6 separate regions of the Homo sapiens genome follow, and regions 2, 3, 4, 5 and 6 are each linked to region 1. Evidence: promoter capture Hi-C in human tissues and cell types (Jung and others, 2019). All regions are on one chromosome and are shown on one strand. The core of a region is centred on a gene start or on the middle of the fragment in contact, and the rest is flanking DNA. Distances in the headings are between cores, read along the strand shown. Region 1 holds the start of HTR1B (5-hydroxytryptamine receptor 1B). Region 2 overlaps PHIP (PHIP subunit of CUL4-Ring ligase complex). Region 3 has its middle 73 kb from the start of IMPG1. Region 4 has its middle 150 kb from the start of MIR10524. Region 5 has its middle 200 kb from the start of IMPG1. Region 6 has its middle 170 kb from the start of LINC02540.

Evidence for each region. The method cuts DNA at HindIII sites, captures the fragments that hold promoters and counts their contacts. A contact is called where the count stands out against the background at its distance.
Region 2: a fragment that was not itself captured here is called in contact with the fragment with the promoter of HTR1B in region 1 in 1 of the 25 tissues and cell types used here (dorsolateral prefrontal cortex).
Region 3: a fragment that was not itself captured here is called in contact with the fragment with the promoter of HTR1B in region 1 in 1 of the 25 tissues and cell types used here (dorsolateral prefrontal cortex).
Region 4: a fragment that was not itself captured here is called in contact with the fragment with the promoter of HTR1B in region 1 in 1 of the 25 tissues and cell types used here (dorsolateral prefrontal cortex).
Region 5: a contact is called between a fragment that was not itself captured here and the fragment with the promoter of HTR1B in region 1, in 1 of the 25 tissues and cell types used here (dorsolateral prefrontal cortex).
Region 6: a contact is called between a fragment that was not itself captured here and the fragment with the promoter of HTR1B in region 1, in 1 of the 25 tissues and cell types used here (dorsolateral prefrontal cortex).

What each region holds. Positions count from the first base shown.
Region 1 is chr6:77,462,026-77,465,252 of GRCh38, reverse strand. It overlaps HTR1B (5-hydroxytryptamine receptor 1B), which reads left to right and starts at 1,762. Exons shown (of 1, transcript NM_000863.3): 1 at 1,762-3,227. The coding sequence starts at 1,850. The coding sequence ends at 3,022. All of the region lies in intron 5 of LOC105377864, which reads right to left. RefSeq lists a silencer at 2,752-2,896. The HindIII fragment of the contact is 6,434 bases long and covers 1-3,227 here.
Region 2 is chr6:79,060,133-79,063,359 of GRCh38, reverse strand. PHIP (PHIP subunit of CUL4-Ring ligase complex) reads left to right here. Exons shown (of 40, transcript NM_017934.7): 5 at 2,542-2,692; 6 at 2,784-2,882. The region is part of intron 1 of LOC124901346 (a long non-coding RNA gene); the gene reads right to left. Among named protein-coding and RNA genes, the nearest start is that of PHIP, 17 kb to the left of the region's middle. The HindIII fragment of the contact is 3,531 bases long and covers 1-3,227 here.
Region 3 is chr6:76,144,308-76,147,534 of GRCh38, reverse strand. No RefSeq gene overlaps it. Among named protein-coding and RNA genes, the nearest start is that of IMPG1, 73 kb to the right of the region's middle. The HindIII fragment of the contact is 7,348 bases long and covers 1-3,227 here.
Region 4 is chr6:78,690,283-78,693,509 of GRCh38, reverse strand. No RefSeq gene overlaps it. Among named protein-coding and RNA genes, the nearest start is that of MIR10524, 150 kb to the right of the region's middle. The HindIII fragment of the contact is 3,957 bases long and covers 1-3,227 here.
Region 5 is chr6:76,268,055-76,271,281 of GRCh38, reverse strand. No RefSeq gene overlaps it. Among named protein-coding and RNA genes, the nearest start is that of IMPG1, 200 kb to the right of the region's middle. The HindIII fragment of the contact is 4,199 bases long and covers 1-3,227 here.
Region 6 is chr6:76,420,395-76,423,621 of GRCh38, reverse strand. No RefSeq gene overlaps it. Among named protein-coding and RNA genes, the nearest start is that of LINC02540, 170 kb to the left of the region's middle. RefSeq lists an enhancer at 348-931. The HindIII fragment of the contact is 3,289 bases long and covers 1-3,208 here.

The sequences.
Region 1 (3,227 bases), core at 513-3,012:
GGACAGGGGATCCGTCCCTGGTCATGAGACCTAGGTACTGGTATTGCATGCTGCAGCTTATGGCTGACATTCCCACATATTAGTTGAAGGCAAAGGAGACACACAAGATGGTGCTGATGATGGTTCCAGTCCTCCCCGCCCCACCATCCCCCTTTTTTCTTGAATTCTGATGACCTCCTTTCTAGGTAGGCTGTTGGAAGGAACACGCTTACTGGCAACTGTTTTCCAGAGGCACTGAAGCACTGAGCAGCTGGAAGAGGATGGTGGAGCAGAAGGTTTAATTTCACATACAGTTGGCTTCTGTTTGTGATAACTTTTACATTTTCGCAGATAGCTTGTCTTTTTCCCTGTTGACTCATAGTTGAGTGAAAAACACAAATTTCTAAAACTAGATGAAAAAATAGTTTTTATTGTATCAAGAGTTAAGGACGGCAAAGTACAAAATGCAAACATTGGGCCCTCTACAGCGATATTACTGGTGCCTCCTAACCTGGGTGTGGCCATCAGGGCTGGATATGATTTTAGAGCGGAGAGGTCAGAGACCAGGGCTTCCCCGCCTAACACTGGCCTCCTAGGGTGGGAGTGGTAGGCAGGAGCCTAGGGCCAGACTGCTGGACTAAACCTGTGACCATGGCTAAGGACATGGGTCTCACTGGAGGTCAGCGCAGCAAGCTCTGATGTCCGTAGAGGCGAGAACAGGACGCCTTCTTCCCCTGACCAGAAATGCAGCTCCAGGTTGTCAGGGCTGGGAGGATGGCCCAGGGTGGGAAGCGGGGAGATAGGGCGGTAGGACCCGGCGGGAGCTTCCTTGGCCAGGAAAGGAACAGGGCGGGGGGAAAAGAGGGAGGGAGAGAGAAAAAGGGAAGGTGATGGGGAGCGGGCGTCCGCACCCGCCGCGCCGCACGAGTTGCACTGCTCTGGCGGACCGGACCTGGACTCTATATAAAGAGCCCATCTGCTCCGTAGCTCGCACGCTTCTCCCGGGCTGGTGCACGCCGCGTCCCTCCAGCTCCCCCAGACACCTGCCCCTTCCCAGTGTGCCGCGCCAGGTCCTCCAGACCCGCGCACCCAGTGGCATGGCTCCGAGTGGCTCCCGTGGGACCAGGGTGGCGGTGGCGGCGGCGCGGCCCGAGCAGCCGCAACTCCAGCCCCCGTGTCCCCCCTTTTATGGCTCCGTCTCCGCGGGGCAGCTCGTCCGAGTGGCCAGAGAGTGAAAAGAGAGGGAGGGCAGAGCTCCGGCGCGAGGCGCGGCGCAGCGCTGCTCCTAGACTTCACCCCACCCAGCTCTGGCGGCCGCTGCAGCCCCCCAAAAGTGCCCCAGCTTGGGGCGAGGGGTGGGAATGCAAGATCTCGGGACCTCTCGCTGGCCTGCAAGCTTTGGTCTCTACACCTAGGAAACTCCTGTGGGCAAAGTCTGCAGATCCAAAAGCGTCCAGGTTAGGAGACGCTCAGCCTCAAGCAACTGGGGTAAGAGATCCCATTTGGTCAAAGCCTTCTCCTCAAGCAGTACTTCACCCTCCTGCACTAGACGCCTCCAGGGAGCTGGAGCGGAGCAGGGCTCGGTGGGCCAGCTCTTAGCAACCCAGGTCTAAGACCCGGTGTGGAGAGGAACAACCACAGACGCGGCGGCTTAGCTAGGCGCTCTGGAAGTGCAGGGGAGGCGCCCGCCTGCCTTGGCTGCCGCACCCATGACCTCTAGTTTCAGCTGTGAACCTGGGCGGAGGAATAATTGAGGAACTCACGGAACTATCAACTGGGGACAAACCTGCGATCGCCACGGTCCTTCCGCCCTCTCCTTCGTCCGCTCCATGCCCAAGAGCTGCGCTCCGGAGCTGGGGCGAGGAGAGCCATGGAGGAACCGGGTGCTCAGTGCGCTCCACCGCCGCCCGCGGGCTCCGAGACCTGGGTTCCTCAAGCCAACTTATCCTCTGCTCCCTCCCAAAACTGCAGCGCCAAGGACTACATTTACCAGGACTCCATCTCCCTACCCTGGAAAGTACTGCTGGTTATGCTATTGGCGCTCATCACCTTGGCCACCACGCTCTCCAATGCCTTTGTGATTGCCACAGTGTACCGGACCCGGAAACTGCACACCCCGGCTAACTACCTGATCGCCTCTCTGGCGGTCACCGACCTGCTTGTGTCCATCCTGGTGATGCCCATCAGCACCATGTACACTGTCACCGGCCGCTGGACACTGGGCCAGGTGGTCTGTGACTTCTGGCTGTCGTCGGACATCACTTGTTGCACTGCCTCCATCCTGCACCTCTGTGTCATCGCCCTGGACCGCTACTGGGCCATCACGGACGCCGTGGAGTACTCAGCTAAAAGGACTCCCAAGAGGGCGGCGGTCATGATCGCGCTGGTGTGGGTCTTCTCCATCTCTATCTCGCTGCCGCCCTTCTTCTGGCGTCAGGCTAAGGCCGAAGAGGAGGTGTCGGAATGCGTGGTGAACACCGACCACATCCTCTACACGGTCTACTCCACGGTGGGTGCTTTCTACTTCCCCACCCTGCTCCTCATCGCCCTCTATGGCCGCATCTACGTAGAAGCCCGCTCCCGGATTTTGAAACAGACGCCCAACAGGACCGGCAAGCGCTTGACCCGAGCCCAGCTGATAACCGACTCCCCCGGGTCCACGTCCTCGGTCACCTCTATTAACTCGCGGGTTCCCGACGTGCCCAGCGAATCCGGATCTCCTGTGTATGTGAACCAAGTCAAAGTGCGAGTCTCCGACGCCCTGCTGGAAAAGAAGAAACTCATGGCCGCTAGGGAGCGCAAAGCCACCAAGACCCTAGGGATCATTTTGGGAGCCTTTATTGTGTGTTGGCTACCCTTCTTCATCATCTCCCTAGTGATGCCTATCTGCAAAGATGCCTGCTGGTTCCACCTAGCCATCTTTGACTTCTTCACATGGCTGGGCTATCTCAACTCCCTCATCAACCCCATAATCTATACCATGTCCAATGAGGACTTTAAACAAGCATTCCATAAACTGATACGTTTTAAGTGCACAAGTTGACTTGCCGTTTGCAGTGGGGTCGCCTAAGCGACCTTTGGGGACCAAGTTGTGTCTGGTTCCACAGGTAGGTCGAATCTTCTTTCGCGGTTTCTGGGTCCCAGCGAGGCTCTCTCTCCTGGGCAAGGGCAATGGATCCTGAGAAGCCAGAATAGTCCTGAGAGAGAGCTCTGAAAGGAGAAGTGTTGAAACTAAATGTAGAGCTTCC
Region 2 (3,227 bases), core at 511-3,010, 1.6 Mb before region 1:
TTATGTGCTGGGATAGGTGCTAACAAAATGTTTTGGGTTTTTTGAGAGTGGGGAAGTCAGTCGTTTCTGCATATTCTTAAATCTTCATATATCCAACTAGAACTTTATTAAGCACTTAACTATAAGTACTGCATTAGGTATTGGGTAGACAGAGGTAAACATGGCCCAATCTCTCCTTATGCAGGACACAGACAAGTAAACTGGCAATTTTAGTATAGTGCATGAGTCTTATGAACCCCCAAAACAGGGCACATAATGGTAGGGCTTGTGTATTTTTGCAGGGAAGAAGATCGTAGCTGTCATTAGATTCTTAAAAGTCTAAGTATCAAAATATATTAAGAACAATTAATATGGTAAGTACTACACAGTGCTAGAGGGATGAAGGGACATTCGAGGAGTATAATGTGCTGTGGGAACACAAAGTGTCCAAAAAGGGGCACAGGTGGTGTAAATAGGTCATGGAAGGCAGTGAGTGAGACATAGACTGAGACATGAAGGAGAATGAGGTGTAGAGGTGAGCAGGTAAGACAAGATTGCCAGCAGAGGCATCAGCTTGTATAAAGTCTCAAAAGCCAGAGAAAGCACAAGGAATTTAAGAACTGGAAGTATCTCTTCTAACTTTAAAATGAAAGTTGATTTTGAAAAATTCAAACATTCTAAATCACCAAAGAAAGCTTGAGTCAGAGTGGATTCATAATATTTTATTGAAAGATAGAATATTACAGTAAGGATTTTCAGTTTCACTACCTGAAAATATATTTTGCCAGAGGATACTAAAACAGGATCATCACACATCTGAAGTTAATAAGTAATGAACTTCCATCTTCTTTAAAGTAAAATTTTTAAAAGGAATTTTGATCAATTAAGTCACATTAAAATAATCATTTGCAAGCTTAGAACTGGAAGCAACCTTACAAGTATTCTAGACTTCTAAATTTTATTTTTGAGTAAATTATTTTGGGGAAGATTAAAGAAAAGTATACGATTTTAAAAACTCATTTTGGTAAGTTTTCTTTTAAATGCTTTTTAATTTAGCTAATCATACTAGTGTTTCCTAAAGTATGTTCTGAGTGAATATGATAGATATTATTAGGGAAAAAAGGGATTCTGTAGCTAAATGAGTTTGGGAAATAATCTCAGGATTTTTCAGAGACTTCAATGTCAGTGTGCTTTTTGACTGCAAAACAAGGAGGTAATATGTATAATTCATATGATACAAACTGTATTAGAACTCCTTTTTCCAAAAATACTCATTTTACTGGCTTATCACCTACTGTATGCCAAACTGCTGTTTTAAATAATCTTACCAAAGATTATTTGGTGGCAGTATGGCTCCATGTTATCTTTGTGAAAGAAGGAGTGTATTTTGATAAAGAGTAAGGTAGGTTTCTCCTATTGGCTTCAGTTTAGATGGGTATTAGCTACCTTTAAAAACATATCATTCATGGATTTCTGCAGTTAAGAGTATAGCAGATATTGCAAGATGGAATGAGATGATTTAAATCCTCACCTCCCCCCACATCAGTCTTATCAAAAGGAATTCATGTTAAAGTTGCCATTACTTGGTAAACTTGAGGAACAATTTTCAAATTTCTTGGTCTTAGGACCCCTTTACACTTACTAAAATGTATTGAAGTTCCTTTATTTGTGTAGCTTATAATCTATTGGTATTTACCATATTAGAAACTTAGCATTTAACATATTGGAGACCTATTAAATAATACTAATAAACTAATCTTATTTTAATATAAGTAACATTTTTATAATAATTATTCCCAAACAAAACAAATTTGTGAGAAGCGTGGCATTGTTTTACATTTCTGTGAATCTTTAATATCTGGCTTAATAGAGGAGACATTTTCCTATCTGCTTCTGCATTCAGTCTGTTAAGACATCACATGTTATGTGTCCTGTGGAAACCTCCACCGTGCATTCATGAGAAAAAGTGAAAAACAACTAATATAGTGTTATTCATAAGTTTTATCTGAGGGACCTCCAGGGGTTCCCAAAACATACTTTGAGAATAGCTGAACTAGATACTACTGTGGAAATTTTTTTCTAACTTGATAGCTAATTATGAAGTAATACAATAGTATTTTTTTCCAATATAATTTTATTTAGATAGTGAATATTGTTTATTTACTGAAAGACTAATAAAAATATTAGCATTTCATGTCATGGTTTCAAATGCCGGTATAAATTAAGCAGTATTTTGAAGTTGTTCCAAAAGTGCTCAAACTTTTTATAGTGGGTAGCTTTATTTTATGATTGAAAGATATTTAAAGCAGCAGTTGGAATTTTGCCTTTCTCTCTGTAAGGTTTTTGGTAAATTATGAAATTCAGCATAGATGTTAAGTGTTCTTAAATTTTTTAATAACAAACTATCAGTTCTTAATTCTTAATTATTCTGGAGATTTACTTTACATCAAAGACGCAAAACAAAATATTTTATACTTGGATGAATTTTTTTATTGTTGCTCAAAGATTTTGAAAATTAAAATGATAAACTGAAACCTACTATATTTGTCTTTTACATAATAGGTGAAGTATTACAGACACTTAGCACCTGATCACTTGCTGCAAATATGTCATCGACTAGGACCTCTTCTTGAACAAGAAATTCCTCAAAGTGTTCCTGGAGTACAAACTTTATTAGGAGCTGGAAGACAGTCTTTACTACGCACAAATAAAAGTATGAAAATTTTCTCATAGGATTTAGACATTATTTATCTCACTTTTGTTTTTGTGTTCTTTGTATGCATAAAAATACATGTGTTTAATAGGCTGCAAGCATGTTGTGTGGAAAGGATCTGCTCTGGCTGCGTTGCACTGTGGAAGACCACCTGAGTCACCAGTTAACTATGGTAGCCCACCCAGCATTGGTGAGTTGTTTGAGTTCACTAGTAGTTAATAGCCTCTTGGTAAAGAGCTTTTGAAAATGAAAAGGTTTTTTAGTTACTGTGGTATTAGAGAACTTCATATTATGTACATCTGCATTCAAAAAGAAAAAAATAGATTTTTTTTCTTAGTAGTAGTTTTAATAGTGAAAAAGTCATGTATAATGAGGGATTGTGCACATTGCACCTTATGTAGGCCAATTAGCTCATTGGAATTTTATTTTTACGAAAGTTCCATATTAAGGTATATATTATTAGGTCGAGTTAGTAGAATCAATATATAATTCAGATTAGTTATAATGGTAGGAGACAAAAGTAGTTATCTTTTTA
Region 3 (3,227 bases), core at 350-2,849, 1.3 Mb after region 1:
TCCCTTAGATCCATCTTACAGCTCTCCCCCAGGTACACTAGTCACTGCCCACTCCAATTACGTAGAATAATAACAATAATAATAATGACAGGCATTTACAATATGTCAGACACTAAGTTGATCACTTTACATGTGACATCTCATTTAGTACCCCCTATTTCATGAAATAAGTGCTATTATTACCTTTTACACATAAGAAAACTCAGGCTTGAAGAAGTATGCTATTTACCCGAACTCTCAGTTGGTCAGTAGCTAAAGTGAATATGAACCTAGGCAGAGCCCATGCATTCAAACACTATACTACTCTCCCTCCCGAAAAATTGTGTTATCTGATAATAATTTATCCATGCAAAATAGTTTATAGTATTCAGGGCACCTTTATCAATAATGTTGCTTTGGACTTTTGCAATGGCATGGAAAGTATCACCATCATTTTCCAGGTAACTGAGAGTTAAATGCTGAAGATTCCAAAGCTAGTAGAATGTTGCTTCAATGTGGATCCAGCCAGAGAAACAGCAACCACACTCATTACTTCAATTTAAGGTGATTTAATGCAAGGAATTGGTTACTAAAGTGTTGAAAGGGCTAATGGAGAAGAAAGAAGAAGGTAATCAGTAATGACAGAAACAACTCCCATCCCTAGGGTTTGAGGAACACAAGAAAAAGTGGTGCTTTCCAGAGTCAATGAACACTGCAGCACTAAGCAGAAATATGGGAGCCAAGTGCCTCCTGACAGGAAACCTGGAGCCAGCCATTTTGCTAAAGCTTCTGGACTAGTTTATTTCTCTTCAAGAGCCCACAGTCACTTGCTATTGCTCCTGTAGCTGTTGAAGCCAGAAGAAGGAATAAACAAAAACAGAAACAGCTTATCTATTCCTCCCACCTTATGATCTTATACAAGCTCTCCCACTGGCTGAGTCAAAGGTTTCCAGGAAATATGGCTTTCAAACTTCCATATATGCAATACAAAGGAGATTTAGAGGTCAAGCACCAAACTGACAGCCAACAGACCTGACACAATGGCAGAAACAGAACTGAACTCAGGACTTCTGAATTAGAGTCAATTATTTTCATTCAATATGTATTTATGCAACTACTCTGAGGCAGGCATTATAATAGCTGTTTGTTAGGGGTTACCATTATGAAACAGGTGTACCCGAACATCTCCTTTTGGAGCTTCAAGTGTAGTAGAAGTGAATAACGGAACTCTTTCCATTATATTCCATCCTCTGGACAAAGATGAGAGCACCATTATGGCTGAAAGAGTTTGTTGGATCTTGCTGTGTCAACTTGATTAAACTGGGAACTGCATTTCCCAGTCTTCCCTTCTTTGTATATTTCTGAGTTAGAGTTTGCCAAAGAGGAATTTGCACAAGGTTGGAAGGCAGACATGAAATGGAGCTATTACTTTCAGAAGTCTTTGTGGTAAGACACTATTATGGGCATACACAGAAGTGTCTGCTAGATCTCAACTCTTTTCCCCTCAACCAGCTTGTCTTCCCAGTCATTGGTTCTGCTGGCCACCTAACATTTGGCTGCATGGAGGAAGTAATTATACAGAGGCAGATGCTTCCTATGGACCATTCTGTGAGCTGTTCCTTCACAGTCTCATTTCAGCAGCCAGACATGCTTTGCTTTGCAGATTTCCCTGCAAATTCTAATTTGTCCACTCATGCTAGTACACCAGGAAGACTGGTTAGTGACTCCTCTGACTGTCTCTTGCAAAACTTCACTTCCCAGCCCCCCAATAGTTACCTGCAGTCTAGTCCCTACTTAAAAATCCCTCATCTCAAAAATTCAAAATGGCCCTACTATCCTGACTAATAAAGGTACCATAGTCTCTTTGGTGTTTCCAAAAATAAGCAGACTTATAGAATCCTAGAAAGAACTGCTACATGCTATACTAAATCATTTCTTAGGCACATTTCATGGTGATTTCTCACATGTCTAAGACATATTCAGCTCTCAGCATATTCCTATCCAAATCATTAGCATAGTACTCTGATCTGGCTACAAAATGCAATCCTAGTTGCACCTCTGACAGTAAATTAATGAATAATTCAGCAAAATGCTCTAGCAGGTCTCCAAGGAGCTATGAATGGATGACCAAAAAAATATAAGACGATTTGAAATGTTTCTCTTTCTACAAAACAAGTTTATTTTCTTCACTGCTCATGTTAGTTGAATTTTTCTCCTTTTCCTGGTATAATGCTTAATTCCCTGTACTAAAACGCTAACATGACAAGTCTTCTCAACTTGCTTGCAGGTAATTAATTGTCTTATTGACCATGTATTAGAAACAGAGAATATTAACTACCTTTTTTTGTGCTGTCATGATAATTACCAGAACAGAGTTGGCAAAATCCAGCTCATCAATAAAAATCAGTAGTTGTCTTCTTGATCAACAAAAAAAAATAAATAAATAAATAAATAAGGGCTTTGGAAAGATAATCAGGTATTCTTTTCCATGAGTCACTAAACCATTAAGTGTAATTTTCCTCTATGGTTTCAGAGTTGTAATAGAAAATGTCACCATCCAAACTATTTGAAGTGCTGACCAATGAGGGTGAGGCTAATAGAAAGACTTTTGACAACAGCAGAGGGAAATTTCTGAAGTCCCCCAGCAGCTTATCCTCATTCAATACATTTAGTTAATAGTATATAGTGAATATATCAACAAAAAATACAAACCTAGGATGGAAGGACTAGAAGCTCTGAGGGATTTGGATAGCCAGAAGCAAGGATTCAAGTCAGAGTTCCAGAGATGCAAATACAAACCAAAGAGGTGGTGGTGTTCTAGAAACCCTATACAACACTGGGCATGCAAGACACTATTTTGGGATTTATCTAGACAGAATGAGGTGAGAAGGGGGGAAGAGAGGGTAAGAGATGCCACTCATGTTAGCAGAGCAGTTTGGTTCAGAGGCCTTGGTGCAGGATAGTTCAGAGAGGAATGCAATCGGGAACAGAAAGCAACAGTCACAGAAGAAGGAACAATAGCAGCAGAAAGATGCTTCAAGAGGCTCTAAGGACCAGTTTGTAAAGGAAGTCAGAAAAGGAAAAATATTGCAGAAGACACAAGTACCTGAAAGCACATACCCAGAAGCAATAATCACACATGCTCTGCAGACTTTGAGGTCTAACTGGAGAGATTTTTGCAGGAGCAGGGGACTTGAAAGTATCACAGTAGCAGATAAAGATGGGGCACAGATTTGTATTTAAATTCC
Region 4 (3,227 bases), core at 194-2,693, 1.2 Mb before region 1:
TGATATTAAAATTAGAACAAGGGAAAGGACACTTTGCAGAGTTGAGTTTCTGTTACAGAAACAATGATTATGACACATATACATTGTATTTTGATGACAACCACATTTTCAACCTTTAATGAGATTGTTGCACTGAGCAAAATATAATTTAAAGATAAACTACTTTTCACCTTTTACACCCATGTAATTAACTCCCAGTGACTTGGGTGAAACTTAGGTCCCCAGGAGAGCTGCTAGCAAGAATTTTAAGATGGCCTTTAACCTTTTACACCCATATAATTAACTCCCAATGACTTGGGTGAAACTTAGGTCCTCAGGAGAGCTGCTGGCAAGACTTTTAACATGGTCATTGGTAGGAGCATTCACAGACTCCCTGCTTTGGTAGACGTTTTGGATGTTGTTTAGTAATATTGAGGGAAGAGACAGTAACATCCTAATCCTTCTGGGACCCACTGCTCTAGAAGCATGACTGACATTTACACTGCCCTTCTCACCTATGGTGCTTGGGAATCCTTTTTTTCAGGGAGATTATCAACCTATACCAATTTGTTTCATTTTCACAGCATGCTGAGTTATCTCTCAGGGCAATTCTCAGATCTGTCTTATAGTTTTACGTGGCAAAAAGTCAAAGAATATATGAACGACTAGATTACTTTTATACTTCATTAGTGTATTATAATTGTAATATGCTTATAATACTTTTAATTAGCTAATTCTCTCTCCTTAGGCACCTGCTATGAGTCTGAAACTCTGCTAAGCCTTTCACAGATCTAACACTATTTAATGGGTATGACACAATGAAAGTATTCATTTTTTTTCCCACAGGAAGGGAATTGAAATATTTAGAGATGCTAACTTGCCTAACTGAGATTACATAGCATTTAAACTAGCAGAGCCATATTTTCCTGACTGCAAAGCCCATGCTCTAGCTCAGTGTATTCCAATGCCCATCACATCAGCGCTCCAGCTGCCCTAGAAACAACTCCTTCCCCCAACTGCTGCCCTTGAGAGTGAGACTGAAGGGTCTATTATCTGGGCAGCATACTAGTTACTTGGCTCAAACCCAATATACATATATTCTCACCTAAACAATGCCATTATAGTTATTTTTATACTGAATTAATTCTCCTACTTTAGCATTAATGCATATGCAAGACTGATGTCATTGCCAGGGTTGGAGAAGAAACCTAGAGCCCCTCAACTTCTCATTGCCCTCTAGCTACCCTTGTGTCACATCCTCTTGCTCTGCCCTTCTCTCCCTAAATTTCATACATTCTTCTTCATCCATTAGAACTACCACATTTACAGTGTATGCATCCCAACAAGGTGTTCAGATGGAGCTGCTTGAATGAATCTTTTCTAAGTTTTAACTAGGTGATATCTCCTACCTTATGAGGGATACTTATTAAACAAAATTAATTTCTACATGTTACAATTTCAGCCAATAGGGGGCAAACAATTTGGGTCTGACCACTCAGCATTCTGCATGTATGAGCTCTGGGGACAGACAGGGGAAAGAAGCCCTAATAGTTTGTGCATCTCCATAGCTGTAACCTGGCTAGGAGGTGACACTTAAATAGAGAACTGTTGGGATTAGGCAACTGAATCTATTAGCTTCAAAGCTTTCTGCCCATTGAATTTCCTACTTTCCCCCCAACAGCTAACTACTGAAATATTTTGTGGGACTGTACGTGAAAGTATTAATTATTTATGGTCATTAAAGTCACCTACTTGTAAATCATGTCCAACTGTATTGCAGCACAAAATCAATTATACCCATTTTAAAGAACTGGTTTAATTCATCTGCCTGGAAATCCTCTTTAATAGCAGCTCTACATTCTCTTCCCCAGATACTTAGGCTTTACGTCTTGTAGCATACATAAAATGCCCAAAGTTCTGCTTGGAATCTTGAATCATTAGAGAAAATAATGCACCAGGAACAGCATCAAATCATGCTTAGCTACTGGGAAATCATAGAAGTATCTTGGTAGAATTATAGTAGCATGACCTTTGAAAACAGTCAGAACTGGGTTTAATCCCAATTTTGAATTTATTAGGCAGCGTATAATCCTGAACATATTTCTTAACCTTGGATTTCTCCCCTAAAAGGTAAAGATAATAATAAATTACTTCTAGTAATGTGTGTTTAAATAGCTTAATAAATATAAATTCTCCTACAGGCTGTTAATACCTAGGGCTGTGGGGCTGATCAGAACTGCCTTTGGCAGACACAGGAACTGCTTATACATTCATTCATTCATTCATTCATTCATTCACTTTACAAATGTTTGAATACTAGGCACAGGTAGAGGGCTTAATTGAGAAAGGAACTTAACAGACTCCAAGGCTAATTGAATTTTAGTATTGCTTATTATTTGCTGGCATTTCTCTTTGTTCACGCTTGTGTGGTAAATAACTAGCAGACCTGTCTTTGAGCTTGAATGTTCTGTCTAAATTTCTCTTTCCTGTGGATGAGACATCCTGTCTTGGGCTTTTTAATAAAATATTAATAAATAAGGGAAGCTTTTCCTTAACAGAGAAAAAAACATTGTATTGCATGTGTTCTCCTTCGGACCAGAAACTTTAGAGCAGAATTGATTGTATTACAAGCACTTAATAACCAGTCTTTTAATTTCATTCTATGGATGTATGTTGAGATGAGACAGGAGACTTTGGCATTGAAGAGCCCAAGTCATGATTCCCTTCTCTGTCTTCCAAAATCTTGTGTTGATTTTCTAATCTTAGAAAGCCATTTTCTTAATGGAATAAACAGACTTGGAGAAAGTAGGTGGCTTTAAGTGTGAAACTACAGAGTCAGGGCAAAATCAGGCTCGCAGGGTCTATTATATTCAAAGTTGGGAAGTTCTTATGTTTTAATTATAATTAAGTCAGAAGTACTTTGATAATTACTACCAGGATGCATGCATATTTTTATGTAAGAACAGAAATGTGTACCTATAAAACTCCTTTATACACTTTACTAGAAAACACTCTTCATTCCCCATCCTGCACCACCCCCTGAAAAAAATACATCCCAGACCTGTGGATAAAGAAACTTAAAAAGTGACTGCTGACAGTATATTATTCAGGCTCATTGCACAGCTGGATAACACAATCAGAACTGAAAGGGCCAGAGGGATTAAGAAAAAAAAAAGGCAACCATAATTGCTGGGGGAACAAAGGTAGCTCACTATAACTTGGGCTGCCTGAAGCTTGTAGGAGGTATC
Region 5 (3,227 bases), core at 434-2,933, 1.2 Mb after region 1:
TTTGCAAACTATCCATCTGACAAGGGATTAATAACCAGATTATATAAGGAGCTCAAAAAACTCTGTAAAAAAAAGTCTAATAATCCACTTTAAAAACCCATATTCTGTGGGTTTTCTTCCAGAATTTTTACAGTTTCGGGTCTTAGATTTGACCCTCTAATCCATCTTAAGTTAGCTTTTGTGTACGGAGAGAGAAATGGATTGTTTCATTCTTCTACATATGGCCATCCGATTTTCCCAGAACCACTTACTGAATAGGCAATCCTTTCCCCAGTTTATGTTTTTGTATGTTTTTTCAAAGATCAGTTGGCTGTAAGTTTTGGCTTTATTTCTGAGTTCTCTATCCTGTTCCATTGGTGTATGTATCTACTATTATACCAGTACCATGCTACTTTGTTTACTATAGCTTTGTAGTATAATTTGAAGTAATGTGATGTCTCCAAATTTGTTTTTTTTGATTAGAATTGCTATGGTTATTCAGGCTCCTTTTTGGTTCCATATGAATTTTATAATTGTTTTTTCTAACTCTGTGAACAATGACATTAATATTTTGATTGGAATTATATAGAATCCATAGATTGCTTTGGGCAGGATGGTAATTTTCATGATTTTGATTCTTTTAACCCATGAATGTGGAATATTTTTTCATTTGTTTGGGGCATCTCTGATTTCTTTCATCAGTGTTTCATAGTTCTCCTCATAGAGATCTTTCACATTCTTGGTTAAGGATAATCCTAAGTGTATTACATTTTTGTAGGTATTGTAAAAGGTTTGAGTTCTTGATTTGATTCTCAGCTTGGCCATTGTTGGTTTTTAGCAGTGCTACTGATTTGCATGCATTGATTTTATAATCTGAGAGTTTACTGAATTCATTTATCAAATCTAGGACTCTTTTGGAGGAGTCTTTATGGTTTTCTAAATATAAGATCATATCACTGGCAAACAGATAATTTGACTTTTTTTCCAATTTGAATGCCCTTTCTTTCTTTCTCTTGCCTAAATGCTCTGGCTAGAACTTCCATTTTTACAATAAAATCCATCAAATATTTTAAAAAGAGAGACTGACTTAATTCTCCCTTGAAAATAAGTGAAGAGATTTCCCTCTCTTCCTTTTTCTTAGAGCATTTACCTCAGAAAACTATTAATTGTTAGCACTTTCTCTTCTCTCTGGAATGTATTTAAATCCTTTTGAAGATTAAAATTGGCATTTAATCAGTTTTATGAGCCATGAAGTTATTTCTCAAGGACTGGGAGCCATCTCTGTGAAATGTAAACATCAAAAAGAATAGGCCCCTATTTCCCAGTTTCTGTGGAAGAGTGGGAATTAACTTCAGTGGATACCTTGCTCAAAGTGGCAAAACTACCTCTTGGCATAAAATTAAGAGAAGCTTATTTTTCCTTTAGATAAAGCCAATTATCTAACACAGATGGTCACGCTAATTACTAGGTGAATTTAGAATGAACTCTATGTGACAAATGGTACAATCAAGTCCTCTTAGAGACTAGTTACTGTTTATCATGAGAACATGTATGGAATGTATAGAATGGATTATAGTTTGGTTATATGTAAGGGTGACATTTCTTTCTGTCTTTGTAATCTCTTAACATATTGCCTGTGATATGAATCACATGCTGGTTTAAAGCTTATTCAATAATAAAATTGTTTTTCTATAGTACTTTAGTGGACAGGTTTTCTGATATGGGAGATTTTATTTTTAATTATATTTCCCCAACATCTTTTTTTTTAATCTGCTAGTAACAACCCAGTGCTCAGCTTCAGACTTGATCTCTAGAGTAGAAATTTTGATAGGAGAATCTAATGGTTGACCTGAATGAAATCAGGTATCTCTCCACCCTTACCATATGTCCCTATGCAAGGGAATAGGGTAGGGAGGGATGCAGGGTCAAGTAATGTAAATGTAACTAGGAAACAGGGAGGGAAGGTTCTCAAAGAAGGAGGGCTGCTCATGTACAACCACTCTCCCACACACACACTTCAAAGTACAAAAGGCAACTTTTAGCAGATAGGCAGACAACTGGGATTTTTCACATTTGTACATTATTCTATTTAAATTTGATTACATTGACTAAACATGTGCACATCAATTCACATTTCAATAACACTGAATTATTGAAATTATTTGAACCATTTCCATGAATCTCTCATGTCCCAGGATACTTGGGGTGATATCCTAAAAAAAACATTTCATTATTCTCATAAATACAGATGTTTAATTAAAAGATTTTGATGTTACAAATGCTACTGTATTTTTCTAACCTCTTTATTTTTTGTCCTCAAAAATATTAAGCCAAATGGATACATTTCCTTAGTGCTTTTAAGTAATTAGCAAAACAAAATACTCTCTGAAGAATGGAAATGTAGTTTTCCTACTTCTTTCCCTCAGTCATGAAAGACAAGCAGATGGTCTCTTATCAGTGTAAACAGCTATCAGAATGGCAATGGTGGCCAGATGAAAGAATAAACTTAGAAATGAAAGGGCAGAAATAGATGAGTTTAAAAAAAGAAGAAACATCTGCTTTTGAATTAACAAAAAGAACACAGCAGTTAAGGTCTAACAATGGATATTTTGTGTTTGGCAAATAGCGTAACTATATAAACTACTTAAGAGCCGTTCATAGACGTATTGTATTCCCAGGTATTTCATACTGACCCAATTGTCTCAGAAACAAAACATTTTATTGGATGAGGCAAGTCAGTGAGGAACCATTCAGCCATGTCTTTATCATGGATTCTGTGGTTGAGGTCTCTAGAGATAACTGTCAAGTTTGGCAAAAAAGTAAGTGAAACTACAAAAGGAGTAAGACTTGTAAAACATTCTCTCAAATTCAAGAGTAGAAATAAAACATGACAAAGTATAGGAGAAGAAAAAAAATTTAGATAGTTATATTTTGGCAGTCTTTACACAGGTATTAGTTGATAGATGATAACCTATTCTGGATTTAATAATTTCCTTTTGAAACTAATTGTGCTTTCACTTCAGCTGCCTATTTCTGGGAAGGTAAAATTAAGAGAAATAAAATCTCATTATTATATCACTGTACAGAAGTTTTTCTACAAAACAATGCCTTTTTTTAAAAAGGAGTAAAACGTTTAATTGTATTAACATTGAGAAATTCTCCCCCCTACATACAAATCAGGAGTTAAATTTAAAATAAGTTACTTAAAATTAAATTTCAATTATAATAATTGGAGGGCACATAGCTTT
Region 6 (3,227 bases), core at 315-2,814, 1.0 Mb after region 1:
GAAAAGAATTCCATAATATAAATGTAATTTTTTTTCGTTTTTGTTATTAGCTATCTCCTACTTGTGGACCTATGGGTTATTTCCAGGTTTTCACTATTATAGAAAATGTTGCAATCAGAGTTGTGTGCATATTTGAAGACACTTCCGATTATTTCTATACAACTATTTCTTAGAGTGGAGTTAAAAAGTCTAGGAGTATGAAGGTTTTTCAAGCTTTTGATGCTTATTGATAAATTATTTTCACACAGGATTATATCAATTTGCCCTCCTGCCAGCAAAGCATAAGAGCATCAAATTTCTTTAAAGTAACAAATAAATACATGTCATATTAGACCTGATATTGAAGAGGGAGATAGAATAAAAACAATGAGAATTTATCACAGTCTCAAAAATGTGAGTTAACGTTGGGCCATTGAAAGGAGTGGTAGATAAAATGCCTAACCCAGACAGCTTTAACATTTCCCTCAGCTTGACTAAGCTTTAGACAGGCTTCTTCCTGATGCTAGGCTCCTGACCTTCCTTTTCTTTACAGCATTTACTTTAGAAAACTTCTAAGTGTAAATTCTCTCTTTGCCTCTTTGAGATGTAAATCTTCTAAAAAGCCTCTTGCTAGCTTTACAGCCCAGGATGTCCTTTCTCAAAGATGTGGGAGCCTTCCCTGTGAAATATAATCATCAGGGAAGGTATCTCTGTAGGAGGGCAGGAGCCAAACTATGAGCCCATCCTTGTGAAAGGATGGAAGCCTTGGTCCGAGTTGTAAAGCTACCTCTTGTCATAAAGATATGAGAAAGCTTACTTTTCCTTTGGGTGAGACCAGTTAGCAAACAGAGGCAGCCTATAATTTCCCTCACTCCAGCCCTTAAAAACTCTTTAGCGCTTTGTTTCTATGGAGATGAGGTGAGATTGAGTTTTGGCCTCTCTTCCCTATTGCAATAGCCTGGAATGAAGTCTTCCTTGTCTGTTTAACATTGTTCAGTGCAATTTTAGCTTTGACACTCCATAAACCCACCCAAAATAGCAGAATGTTTATGTGTGATATAATTGTAATTATTAAATGCTGTTAAACTACTTAAAAGACATCTTAAAATTCTGTTATTTCTATCACCTGTCATAAATTTACAATGCACTCTCAAGGTTATGACTTTTAAACTGTTTTTTACTTAGAAAATACTAAATTAATATACAACAAGCTTGTCCAACCTGCGGCCTGAGGGCCACATATGGCCCAGGATGCTTTTAAATGGAGCCCAACACAAATTTGTAAACTTTCTTAAAACATTATTAGTTGGTTTTTGTTTTGTTTTGTTTTGTTTTTGCTATTTTTATTTTCTAGCTCATCAGCAATTGTTAGTGTATTTTATGAGTGGCCCAAGACCATCCTTCTTCTTCCAATGTGGCCCAGGGAAGCCAAAAAGATTGGACATCCCTGCTGTAGCGCCTTGAACAAAACATGTATTTCTCTAATTCTGTTTCCTTACTTATAAAATGGAACCTGGTAAGTGGCTATTAAGATCTCCAAAGATCTAACAGTCTGGGGTCCAATTCATTCTTCACAAAATTCCAAATTACTGAGCAGATTATTCTGCTGCAGAATGTATTTCTACAACACTAATCAGCTCATAAACAATTGGAAAATAGAGAAACTATGTCAGAATAATATGGACATAATCTGGTTTATACATGATTTTTTATAAGCAAGGGGAAGTAGAAAATCAAGAGTAGAAACCGAACATTCAGCAATGAAGAATAAAGACTTCAGCCTATGCTGCTCAGGCAGCTGAAACCCTTTCCGTTCCATTTTAATAAAATTATAAATAAGTCCTGCACCAGGGCATCCCTCCTCCAAAAGGAACACTCAAGCTTTGTATTGCTGTGCCTGATGAGAGGTTGCACTCCCCAGAAAGAACACCTTCAAAGCAGCCCCTCTGGTTTAGAGTTCTACTTCTATCTATCTACCTGCCTCTATGCTAATTAAGAGCTACTAGTATTTCTGTCAGAGGCACGTGAAACAGAACAACTCCATCTTAAATAGGAGCTGGGTAAAATGAGGCTGAAACCTACTAGTCTGCATTCCCAGATGGTTAAGGCATTCTAAGTCACAGGATGAGATAGGAGGTCAGCATGAAATACAGGTTATAAAGACCTTGCTAATAAAACGCGTTTCAGAAAAGGAGCCGGCCAAAACCCACCAAAACTAACATGGGACGAGAGTAACGTGTGGTCATCCTCACAGCTACACTCCCACCAGCACCATGACAGTTTACAAATGCCATGGCAATCTCAGAAAGTTACCCTATATGGTTAAAAAGAGGAGGCATGAATAATCCACCCATTGTTTAGCGTATCATCAAGAAATAACCATAAAAATGGGCAACGATTTTTGGAGTAGCCATTCTTTATTCCTTTACTTTCTTAATAAACTTGCTTTCACTTTGCACTGCAAACTCATCCTGAATTCTTTCTTGTGCGAAATCCAAGAACCCTCTCTTGGGGTCTGGATCCAAACCCCTTTCCTGTAACATTTTCATTGTATTTTTTTTTGTACATTTTTAGTATCCTCTGTGCCATCCTCTAGCCATACTGAACTGCCTGCCTGAGTGATGTGTTTTCTACCAAAGTACCAGTTACTCTTCTGTGTAGTGCTGTGGTCACAAAGTTGCACTGGTGGGAATGGTCTCCCCTCACCCTCACTCTTTGCCCCATTAGATCCTCTTAGTTCTAGTGGAAATTTTTGTAGAACATCAAGTTTTTGGTTGTTGTATTTTTTTCAAAAACACAGAACCTCTGTACTTATAATCATACCTCCTCCAAAACTATCAGAAACTGCAAAAATACGGTAATAAGGCTCTTACATTGCTCACCTATTTATCCAAAAATTATTTAAGTGCCTGCCACATGCCAGGGACTGTGCTCATCTCTTCTATTGCTTCATTTGAAGCAAGCAACAAACAAAAACACCTGAAAATTTTGCATCTCCAATAATGATGGATATATTGTTGGTACATTTACATTAATATTTTCCATCCAAATATTCTTTATTGCATTAAAATTTATTGTAGAACTTAGAGTGTTCTTCTTTTAAAAACTCAATTTATTTTGCTACTTCTACAGAGAGCTATAACTCAGATTCCTCTTACTGGTGGTTCAGCACTTTCCCCACCTCACTTTCATTGGGCTCCCAGGATGGGGGTCAGCCCCGACAAGACAATCTCTATCGATTCCTACCT